Regions from separate parts of the Homo sapiens genome. Here regions 1, 2 and 4 are each linked to region 3. The links are contacts of gene promoters, found by promoter capture Hi-C in blood cells and fetal thymus (Javierre and others, 2016). All regions are on one chromosome and are shown on one strand. The core of a region is centred on a gene start or on the middle of the fragment in contact, and the rest is flanking DNA. Distances in the headings are between cores, read along the strand shown.

What was found. Contacts are between HindIII fragments. The CHiCAGO score rates a contact against its expected background, and 5 or more counts as called.
Region 1: a contact is called between a fragment that was not itself captured here and the fragment with the promoter of ADAMTSL4 in region 3, in 1 of 17 cell types (neutrophils). The highest score is 5.0, in neutrophils.
Region 2: a fragment that was not itself captured here is called in contact with the fragment with the promoter of ADAMTSL4 in region 3 in 2 of 17 cell types (neutrophils and erythroblasts); the score reaches 7.4 in neutrophils.
Region 4: a contact is called between a fragment that was not itself captured here and the fragment with the promoter of ADAMTSL4 in region 3, in 4 of 17 cell types (erythroblasts, endothelial precursors, neutrophils and 1 more). The highest score is 9.4, in erythroblasts.

The regions. Positions count from the first base shown.
Region 1 is chr1:150,860,660-150,863,359 of GRCh38, forward strand. The region is part of intron 1 of ARNT (aryl hydrocarbon receptor nuclear translocator); the gene reads right to left. Among named protein-coding and RNA genes, the nearest start is that of ARNT, 15 kb to the right of the region's middle. The HindIII fragment of the contact is 5,924 bases long and covers 1-2,700 here.
Region 2 is chr1:150,839,327-150,842,026 of GRCh38, forward strand. ARNT (aryl hydrocarbon receptor nuclear translocator) reads right to left here. Exons shown (of 22, transcript NM_001668.4): 6 at 115-328. Among named protein-coding and RNA genes, the nearest start is that of CTSK, 32 kb to the left of the region's middle. The HindIII fragment of the contact is 6,848 bases long and covers 1-2,700 here.
Region 3 is chr1:150,548,089-150,550,788 of GRCh38, forward strand. It overlaps ADAMTSL4 (ADAMTS like 4), which reads left to right and starts at 1,320. Exons shown (of 19, transcript NM_019032.6): 1 at 1,320-1,411; 2 at 1,734-1,807. It overlaps LOC124904417, which reads left to right and starts at 2,202. Exons shown (of 1, transcript XM_047438226.1): 1 at 2,202-2,700. The coding sequence starts at 2,202. ADAMTSL4-AS2 (ADAMTSL4 antisense RNA 2) reads right to left here. Exons shown (of 6, transcript NR_187269.1): 6 at 476-662. RefSeq lists silencers at 505-799, 731-880, 1,051-1,190 and an enhancer at 2,526-2,700. The HindIII fragment of the contact is 42,411 bases long and covers 1-2,700 here.
Region 4 is chr1:150,821,007-150,823,706 of GRCh38, forward strand. It overlaps ARNT (aryl hydrocarbon receptor nuclear translocator), which reads right to left. Exons shown (of 22, transcript NM_001668.4): 14 at 2,188-2,339. Among named protein-coding and RNA genes, the nearest start is that of CTSK, 14 kb to the left of the region's middle. The HindIII fragment of the contact is 2,409 bases long and covers 135-2,543 here.

The sequences.
Region 1 (2,700 bases), core at 80-2,579, 310 kb after region 3:
AGCCTGATCAACATGGTGAAATCCCATCTCTACTAAAAATACAACAATTAGCCAGGAATGGTGGTGGGCACCTGTAATCCCAGCTACTCGGGAAGCTGAGGCAGGGAGAATTAATTGAACCCAGGAGGCGGAGACTGCAGTGAACCAAGATCGCACCACTGCACTCCAGCCTGAGCGACAGAGAAAGACTCTGCCTCAAAAAAATAAACAAATAAAAAATAAAACAAAATATATAAAGAGCTCCTACAACTCAACAAAAAGCAAACCCAATTTTAAAATGGGCAAAGAACTTGAACAAGCATTTCTACAAAGAAGATATACTAATGGCCAATAAATACATGTAAAGTGCTCAACATAACCAATCGCTAGGGAAATGCAAATCAAAACCACAATGAGAAAGCATTTGCTACTCATTAAGATGACTATTATCCAAAAATATATAAATAAATAAAGGGTTGGCAAGGATGTGGAGAAATTAAAACCCTTATGCACTGCTAGTGGAAATGTAAAATGGCGTAACAGCAATAGAAAACAGTATGGAGATGCCTCCAAAAATTAAAAATAAAACTGGGTGCAGTGGTGCGCACCTGTAGTCCCAGCTACTCGGGGTCTGAGGCAGGAGAATCTTGAGTCCAAGATCAGGCTGGGAAACACAGCAAGACAACATCGCAAAAAAAAAATTAAATTAAAAATAGAATTACCACATGATCCAGCAATTCCACCTCTGGGTATATACCTGAAAGAATTGAAAGCAGGGTCTCAAAGAAACATTTGTATACCCACGTTCACAGAAGTACTATTCAACAGTAGTCAAGGGTGAGGGCAACCCAAGTGTCTATCTACAGGTTAACGGATAAAGAAACTGTGGGGCTGAACATGGTGGCTTACACCTGTAAGGCTAGCACTTTAAAAGGCCGAGGGAGGAGGATCATTTGAGTCCAGAAGTTCAAGACCACCCTGGGCAACACAGTGAGACCCTATCTCTAAAAAAAATGAACAAAATTGGCCATACATGTGGTATGTGCCTGATTACAGGCATGAGTCACCACGCCCAGCCAGGGTTTCGGTAATTTTTACCCAAAAAAAAGGGTCATACTATACAAACAGTCCTGACTTATAATGGTTCCATGTAGGGCTTTTCACCTTTATGATAGTGGGAAACCATTACAATTTCAGTGTAATGTACAGTGTTCTGTAAATTACATAATATCCAGTACTTTATTATAAAGTAGAATTTAAGTTAGATTATTTTGCCCACTGCAGGCTAATGTAAGTATTCCACACACATTTAAGGTAGTCTAGGCTAAGAATAGGTTAAGTGTATTAAATGTATTTTTGACTTAGGATGTTTTCAATTTACAATGGGTTTATCAAGCCATAACCCCACCATAAGTACAGATGTACTTATTCTGAACTTTTTCCCTTCCACGTAACAATATATTGCTATGGCAATAAATACACACGTAGATCATTCTTTTTAACAGTTACATAGTACTCTGTACTATAAATGTATAGTTATGACATTCAAACCTTCACTATTATAAATAATGTTTCAAGGAACATCATTGTGTATCTTCATGCACAGGTGCCAGTACTTCCATATTATTTCTGAAAATGACTCCCTGGGCCTAAGGGTAGACACATTTAAAACTCTGATTGCCCATTACCTGCCAAGGAGGTTATACCAATTTAAAGCCTCATCCACTGCATCAATTTAGCCATACCTCCAACAGCACTGTGTTTTGGGAATCCTTCAAATTTGTGGTCATTTTCTTGGTAAAAAACAATTACCACTGTTAGTTTAACATACATTAAGGCTGAGTATATTTTTATGTTACTGCTAATTTTTCTATTTCAGCCTATAAATTTGAAATAGTAAGCATATGTTACTTTCCTAAGAAAAAACACTTTTTCCATTAAAAAAAAAAGTTCAGGGCCAAGTGCAGTGGCTCATGCCTATAATCCCAGCACTTTGGGAGGTCAAGGCATGAGGATTGCTTGAGCTCAGGAGTTCAAAACTAGCCTGAGCAACATAGTGAGATCCTGCCTCTGTAAAAAAAAAAAAAAAAAAAAAAAAGTTCATACTTTTAGTAATACGTTTATATAGGATATAAGAGTACCATGGAGTCAAACCTGTAATCCTAGCACTTTGAGAGGCCGAGGCAGGCAGATCACGACATCAGGAGTTCGAGACCAGCCTGGCCAATATGGTGAAACTCCGTGTCTACTAAAAATACAAAAATTAGCCAGGCATGGTGGCGCACACCTGTAGTCCCAGCTACTCGGGAGGCTGAGGCAGAAGAATCGCTTGAACACAAAAGGCGGAGGTTGCAATGAGCCAAGATCGTGCCACTGCACTCTAGCCTGGGTGACAGAGCAAGATTCCGTCTCAAAAAAAAAAAAAAAAAAAGATTACCATGGAGGCCAGGCACGGTGGCTGATGCCTGTAACCCCAGCACTTTAGGAGGCTGAGGTGGGTAGATCACTTAAGGTCAAGTTTGAGACCAGCCTGACCAACACGGCAAAATCCCGTCTCTACTAAAAATACAAAAATTAGTCAGGTGTGGTGGTACACGTCTATAATCCCAGCTACTTGGGAGACTGAGGCATGAGAATCGCCTGGGAGGCAAAGGCTGCAGTGAGCCGAGATCATGCCACTGCACTCCAGCCTGGGCAACAGAATGAGACTCTGTCTCAAAA
Region 2 (2,700 bases), core at 111-2,610, 290 kb after region 3:
GTTTTCCCATTGTCTGACTTCTTCCTGAAAAGCTGAATTCTTGTCCAAAAAACGAAAACTTTCAAGAGATTCACCCAGATTCCAGACTCTCTCAGAACTATAAGTCCCAGAGACCTGATCAGTGAGGAAAGACGGCTTATAGGAGCCATCAGTGGATGTGTTGCCAGTTCCCCGCAAGGACTTCATGTGAGAAACTGCCATGCGTAAGATGGTTAGCTTGTCTGGTTTTCGAGCCAGGGCACTACAGGTGGGTACCATATCTGACAGTTCTGTGATGTAGGCTGTCATCTTGTTCCGTCGCCGCCGTTCAATTTCACTGTGATTTTCCCTGCATGGAAAGAAAGAGAAGCCCCATCCAGGTGGTCACATCTGGTCATTTGGTAGCAGGGAGAGTGATATGGATACCAAGTGTGCTGCTGAAGAATGTGGTATTCAGATTTAGTGATGCTTAAGTCTCAGCAGTTAAAATAAGGTTTGCCAACCTTCTCATGCAAAGCAAGCATGAAACAGAACTAATAAGGCAGACAGAGAACAAGAAGATAATGTAATTCCCTTCCCCCTATTTCCTGGAAACTTCACATCCTTTGTAAATTACCACTCCCTCAGAACAAAAGCTGTTTTAAGAAACGACAGGTCAGGCATGGTGGCTCATGCCTGTAATCCCAGCACTTTGGGAGATGGAGGCAGGTGGATTACTTGAGGCCAGGAGTTTGAGACCGGCCTGGCCAACATGGTGAAATCCTGTCTCTACTAAAAATACAAAAATTAGCAGGGCACAGTGGCATGCATCTGTAATCCCAGCTACTTGGGAGGCTGAGACAGGAGAATCACTTGAATCTGGGAGGTGGAGGTTGCAGTGAGCTGAGATCACACCACTGCACTTCAGCCTGGGTGGCAGAGCAAGACTCCATTTCAAAAAAAAACAAAAAACAAAAAACAAGAGAAAAAAAAAGATAGTATTTTTAAATGCTGATTTTACTCACTTAAGTTCCTATGGAACATATAACCTCAGCTTGGTTAACTCCCATGCTTACTAATTCAACTATTTAAAGGCCAGAAAATAAAAGGACCAATTTTTGCCAACTCAAGTATGTGGCTCCATAGCTGATACAAGAATTGATAGTACAGATTTCCTTGGTCTATAAAATATGGTAAGCCTCTCTCTTATTTGCAACATTAAAAGGCAGAATTTGAAGATTTTGAAGTTTTATTTGGCCCATTAATGCACAAAGTCCTACCTTCTTTATCTGGGTGTGCTGCCAGTGCACTAAACTTCTTACAAGACTTAAGATACACCATCTACTAAAAGTCCCATATGGGTCCCCAGTCTGGGACGAAGTTAACTGGAGGAGTGGAATGGAGAGGAGGATGATTAAAGGTCTGACAAGACAATTTGAATCTCACCCAGGTAAATAGACCACAGCTCCAACACTGACTTCCTCAAAATTAAGACAGAAAGATATCACTGTTAACAGGAATAATCCAGCAGTTTTCCAACAGGAATTTTTAAAAGCCCATTAAGTTTCTCAGTGTCCTCCATGGGGATGCCTCAAGGAGATAATCATGCAACATGCTGCATTTCTGCTTCTACTCAAATATTTGCCTTATCTCTCTTCTTCTTTTTTTTTTTTTTTTTTTTTGAGATGGAGTCTTGCTCTGTCACCCAGGCTGGAGTACAGTGGCGGGATCTCGGCTCACTGCAACCTCCGCCTTCTGGGTTCAAGCAATTCTGCTATCTCAGCCTCCCAGGTAGCTGGGACTACAGGCGCACACCACCACGCCCAGTTTTTTTTTTTTTTATTTTTAGTAGAGACGCGGTTTCACCAAGTTGGCCAGGATATTCTCCATCTCTTGACCTCGTGATCTGCCTGCCTCGGCCTCCCAAAGTGCTAGGGTTACAAGCATGAGCCACTGCGCCCGGCCTGCTTTATCTCTTTTATTTATTTCTGTTACCACTTAAGAATTCTACTTGAACAAAAGTTCTTTGTCCAAAAAAAAAAGAAAGTAAGAAAATTAAAAATCTAACATAAATCTCTTTTTTCTGAGAAGAGCAAAGGGAGGTCAAGTAGGTAAGTGACTTTCCCCAGGCTGCTCTCTTCCCAATACAATGTTTTCTCCACCACATCATGCCAAATCCATTTTCTGAACAGTGAAAGGGTTAGTAAGAAGCTCGAGTTAAACTGGCAGCAAAATGAGTTTGTGACCCAGATTAAAGAGGAAATAGTAGAAAAAAGGGGGAATATAGTAAAAATGGGTATTGGCATCAATGATCTATTTCCTAAGTCACCCCCAAATCACAGATACTAGAAAACAGAAAAGTCTATGCATATTTCTTCTGCAGCATTTCTACATTACAAACAACAGTCTCCCAAGAGAATTCTAGAGTCTCCTTTCTAAATGGCAAAAAGGGTCTCACCACATAGGCCCATATTTAGTTACACTTTGCCTAAGACATAAAATTCTATTCTCAAACATAAAGCACTCATCTTCCTAGTATCTGACAGATTTCTGACACGTAAGTACAGAAACCTGGTCTTTTAAATAGCCACATCAAGGAAACTAAAACTTTTCTAGAAAACTACCGCAAGAAAGGATTCGGTCACCAAAGCAACACTAGTTCTGTTGTGAGAATAATCTAGGCTGTGAGTCTTCATAGGAAAATAGGTGTGAGTTTCCTAGAGGTGTGGAGTAAATGCTGAG
Region 3 (2,700 bases), core at 70-2,569:
TTAAAAAAATTCACAAAAATAACATTACATAGCTGGGTGCGGTGGCTCACGCCTGTAATCCCAGCACTTTGGGAGGCCGAGGCGGACGGATCACGAGGTCAGGAGATCGAGACCATTCTGGCTAACACGATGAAACCCCGTCTCTACTAAAAATACAAAAAATTAGCCGGGCGTGGTGGCAGACGCCTGTAGTCCCAGCTACTCAGGAGGCTAGGGCAGGAGAATGGCGTGAACCTGGGAGGCGGAGCTTGCAGTGAGCCAAGATAGCACCACTGCACTCCAGCCTGGACGACAGAGTGAGACTCCGTCTCAAAAAAAATAAATAAATAATAATATAATAATAATAAACATAACGCAGAGTAAAAAGCAAAAGCCTTTTTCAGTCCTCCCCCAACCCTGCATCCCTCCCCAGATGTCACCAATACTACTGAGTTTGGGGTGCATTCTTCCATGTATAAATGCATAAAGAGACATATCCAAGCCCATCATATATATTAGATTAGTCCCATTTTGCAGATGAGCAAACTGCACCACACAGGGGTGGAAGTATTCGTCGAAGACCACATAGCTGGCAAGAGCTGGAGCTGAGGTTCAAATCCAGATCAGTCTGACTCAGAAGTCAGCACGCTGTCCTTTCGCTGAGTCCCGAGTGTAAAACCTTACTGAGGAAAAAAACCGAAGCTCATAGAAGTCCCAGCAATCTGAACCACCACTGCCCAACACGGGAGAGGCAGGAGTGACTGAGTTTGCAGGGGAGGCTGCGTGGAGGGGAGAGCCTGGACCCACGCGGATCGGGGGCCGCGGGTACCTCCGTCCAGGGCGCTTCCCTCCCGGACCAGCGGCTCTCCCAGGCCGCCTCGCTCCAGGCGCCCCTGGAGGCTGCCCCGCCTGTGCCGCGCCGCGCCGCGCCGTGTTCGCACCGCTCACCCGAGCGGCTCGGAGGCCCGGGTTGCTTAAGTCCCTAGTCTCAGCCGGGCACGAGGACAGCGCCCGGGAGCGACTGCAGCCTCTGACCCCGGCTGGGCCAGCCCGGGCTGCTTAAGTCCCTAGTCTCGGCCGGGCACGAGGACAGCGCCCGGGAGCGACTGCAGCCTCCGACCCCGGCTGGGCCAGCCCGGGCTTCAGCTCACGCAGCCGTCGGGGGGCGCCCGGCGCGCAGCCCGGGGTGGGTGGTCCTGGCGAGTGGGGCTGCGAGGCAGACCGGCCCCACCCCGGGGCCGCCGAGGGGCGCGGGCTGGGGCGCGTGGCGGGCGGGGCTGGGCGGGGGCGGGCGCGAGGGCGGAGTTGCGGCCGAGGCGGCCGTGACCGGAGCGCGGCTCAGGGGCCCCAGTGGCCGCCGCGGAGCGAGGTTGCCTGGAGAGAGCGCCTGGGCGCAGAAGGGTTAACGGGCCACCGGGGGCTCGCAGAGCAGGTAGAGACCTCCCCGGGACCCCGGCCCCGGCCGCCCCTCTCCCGGGTCCCGTTAGACCGCCCGCCCCGCGCGCCCGCGTCGTCCCCTCTCCCTGCGCTGTGCGGTCGCGACCCCGCCACGACCCCGGACCCAGCTCCGGTGGCCTCGGACAATCTTCCAGCCCCTGGGGTCGAATTCCTGGGGAGGGAGTCTGATCCCGTGGAACTCTGGCCCCATCACCCGGGCGGGGAGTGAACCAAAATTCCTCCTAAGTCACATAGTAAAGTTGGAAAACAGACCCATGACCTCCCCGCGCGGCCGGTGCCTCCTGCCCTCTCTCTAGGAGGGTGCTCTCGGACGGTGTGTCCCCCACTGCACTCCTGAACTTGGAGGACAGGGTCGCCGCGAGGGACGCAGGTGGGTGCCCTTGATCCAGCTCAGCCCGATGGCAGAAGAGGTTGACAAAAAAGAAAGACACCTGTTGGGGTGGCCTGCCAGACCCAGGAGTGGAGGGCTCTGAGGGCCCGGGAATTCGGACTCAGGACAGGGATTCTCCATGGCTAGGCCCAGAAACACAGGGTCCAACCACTCTCCAGCAGGGAGACCTGGGGGTGAAGGGGTGAGCCCTGCGCAGGTCTCTGTTCCTTGGTCTTCACTGGGCAGTGTGGAGAGGTGTGGCCAGGAGGAGCCCGCGTTTGTCCAGACCAGGGTCTACTCTGGCACCAGAGTGACCACCTCTGACCTCTCCTTTCCTCGTCCTGGGCCGGGAACGACACCAAATGAGGGACATGGAAAGGGGTGAGAAGCATAAATGTGCGTGTGTTTCTGCAGAGGAGGGGGCATGGGCCCCTGCCGGGCTGCGCAGGGGAGGGTGGGGTGGGACTTTTCCAGAGAGGGAGCCAGGCCTGGCCCGGGCCCCGGGAGCTCACGTCACCCCCACCCCTCACTTCTCCAGGGAACTGCCAAAGCCAAACCCAGCTCGGGATGGGATTATGTGTACTGGGTAGACCCGTGGAGAGGGGCTGCGAGAAGAGATCTCGGTGGCAGAGAGAAGCAGAGGCAGAGAGGGCATGAAGAGGGGTCGGCATCAGAGAAGGGGCAGGCAGTGACTATCACCCCATTTCTTCTTCCCTCAGCTGGAGTAACAAGAGTCAGGCAGAGCCTGAAGACTTGGGTGGAACATGGGCCCTTCTCTGGAGATCCTGGCCTCCCCCGTTCAGTCAGGGTGGAGTTGCTGACCTTAGTGGCCGGCCCAGCCAGGGGAAGGAGTGGCCATCGGCAACCCCCACCCCAACCCCAATCCCTGAGGC
Region 4 (2,700 bases), core at 89-2,588, 270 kb after region 3:
TTGAACACGTTTTGTATGTTGTACGTATTATGTACTGTATTCTTACAATAAAGCTAAAGAGAAAATGTTATTAAGAAAATCATAAGGAAGAGAAAATGCATTTACAGCACTGTACTGTATTTATCGTTATCATAAGCTTATATCATCTTACAAGATGACTTACAAGATGAGTCATCTATATGAAGTGGCAAGCAACCACAGCTGCAGACTTCATTCTATAGTACATATCAAGCAATTCACCTTTTTCTTATAATGTCATGACTTTTCCCTGCTTCTTGGGAAGACTTCCAGCATCACTAGTGGCACTTCATACTGTTCCCAAATGTTATTCAAGGTTTCAGTATTGCACTCAACACGATGAAAAATATGCAAGAACCATGAGATTTCACTGTTTACTGCAATATGCAATTTACTGGAGTGAATTGCTCATGAAGAGATGATTAGCATCACACAGCATTTTAAGCAAACTGGCAACAATTGAGCAATAGGTGGCTACCAAATTATTACAACAGTACAGTATATACTATAGTTAACTTTACGCGGTTATGATTTAAAACTGCATCTTTACATTTGTTTACATTTCTCTCAACTACAAATGGTGCCATTGTACAAACGGTGTGTATGTATACGTTGTGATACATTTTTATTTTTATTTTTTTTGAGATGGAGTCTCCCTCTGTCACCCAGGCTGGAGTGCAGTGGTGCGATCTCAGCTCACTGCAACCTCCACCTCCCAGGTTCAAGTGATTCTCATACCTTAACCTCCCAAGTAGCTGGGACTATAGGCGTGTGCCACCATGCCCAGCTAATTTTTGTATTTTCTTTTTTTTTTTTTTTTTTTTTTCAGTAGAGACAGGGTTTCACCATGTTGGCCAGGCTGGTCTCGAACTCCTGACCTCAAGTGATCTGCTCAACTTGGTATCCCAACTTGGTATCCCAAAGTGATAAAGTGATGGGATTACAGGTGTGAGCCACTGCACCTGTCCAGCATTTTTACTTTTTATAATAGATTTGTATATGTTGTATGGTAGTAAATGATAAAATAGACTAGAATTTATATATATTTAATACATTCATGTATGACATGGCTAACTTTTTCTAATTTTTTCAATATATCCAGGCTATGTAGCTTATTTTTGGGTTTTTCAAATTGTCACAAATATCAAAAGAATTTTCTAATATATTTACTGAAAAAAATCCATGTATAAGTGGACCTGGATTTTTACCAATTAAAATCTTTGGAATCTTCAGTGTGATAAGTGTCTTTTTGTCTGCTAATGAGTTGACTGAGGGCTGGCAACCCCTAGGTAGCTTCAAGATGGGGGCTCATCTCTGGAAAGATCAAGGTAAAATTAGAGGGCTGGGACTTTTAGCCCTAACCCTCAACCTCATGGAGGGGAGCCGGTACCTAAGGTTAAGTTGATTACCAATGGCCAATGATTTAATCACTCATGGCTACATAATGAAATTTCCATTAAAACCCAAAAGGACTGGGTTTGAGGAGCTTCTTGATAGGTAAACACATGGAGATCCCCGGAGGGTAGCCCACCCAGAAAGGGTCTGAAAGCTCTGCACTCCTTCCTCCTTACCTTGCCCTATCTATCTCTTCATCTGATGTACAAAGTATCCTTTGTAATATCCTTTATAATAAACTGGTAAACATAGGTAAATGTTCCCTGAGCCATTCAAGCAAATTGACTGAACCCAAGTAGGGGGTCATGGGAGACAGCTGGTCAGTCAGATGCACAGGTAAAACAACCTGGGGCTTGCAACTGGCATCAGAAGTGGGAGCAGTCTTGTGGTACTGCATACACAAATTGGGGGATCTGATGCTATCTCCAAGTAGATAGTGAACTGAATTGAATGGAAGGACACCCAGCTGGTGTCCACTACTGATTGCTTGATTTCTTTTTTCTTTTTCTTTTTTTGAAATGGAGTCTCGCTCTGTAGCCCAGGCTGGAGTGCAGTGGCATGATCCCAGCTCACTGCAACCTCCACCTCTCAGGTTCAAGTGATTCTCCTGTCTCAGCCTCCAGAGTAGCTGGGACTACAGGCACATGCCACCACGCCCGGCTAAATTTTTGTGTTGTTGCTTGATTGTTTACCCCCCACATAGGGCATCAGAAGTGTTTTCTGTTGTGAGAACAGAGGAAAAACAGTTTTTTCACACTCCTGTATAATACATACTTCACATTGGTGTTGGTACAGATGATGTACTCAATTTCATCTGAGTAAGGGTTCTGGAAAGTAAAGGAGCTGGTTCTCATCCAGAGCCATTCTTGGTTCTTAGACCGGAACCGGAACATGACAGACAGCACTTGGCCTTTTAATTTCACTACCTGAAAAAGTTTTCATGCCATCAGTGGAACTCATAGAAAATTTTCATTACAAAAATAAATAAAAATTTTCCAATTTCTATAACCCTAAAACTCTTGTCATTGTCCTTGAGGCACCAATATTTTTCAATATTAAAACAAAATGAGAGTAAAAACTAAGTGATTAAACATGGAAGCATATTTCTCATGCTTCCTTTCAGAGACTTAAGCTTTTTTTTTTTTTTTTGAGACGGAGTCTCCCTCTGTCGCCCAGGCTGGAGTGCAGTGGCACGATCTCTGCTCACTGCAACCACCACCCCTCGGGTTCAAGCGATTTTCTTGCCTCAGCCTCCCGAGTGGCTGGGACTACAGGCGCGTGCCACCA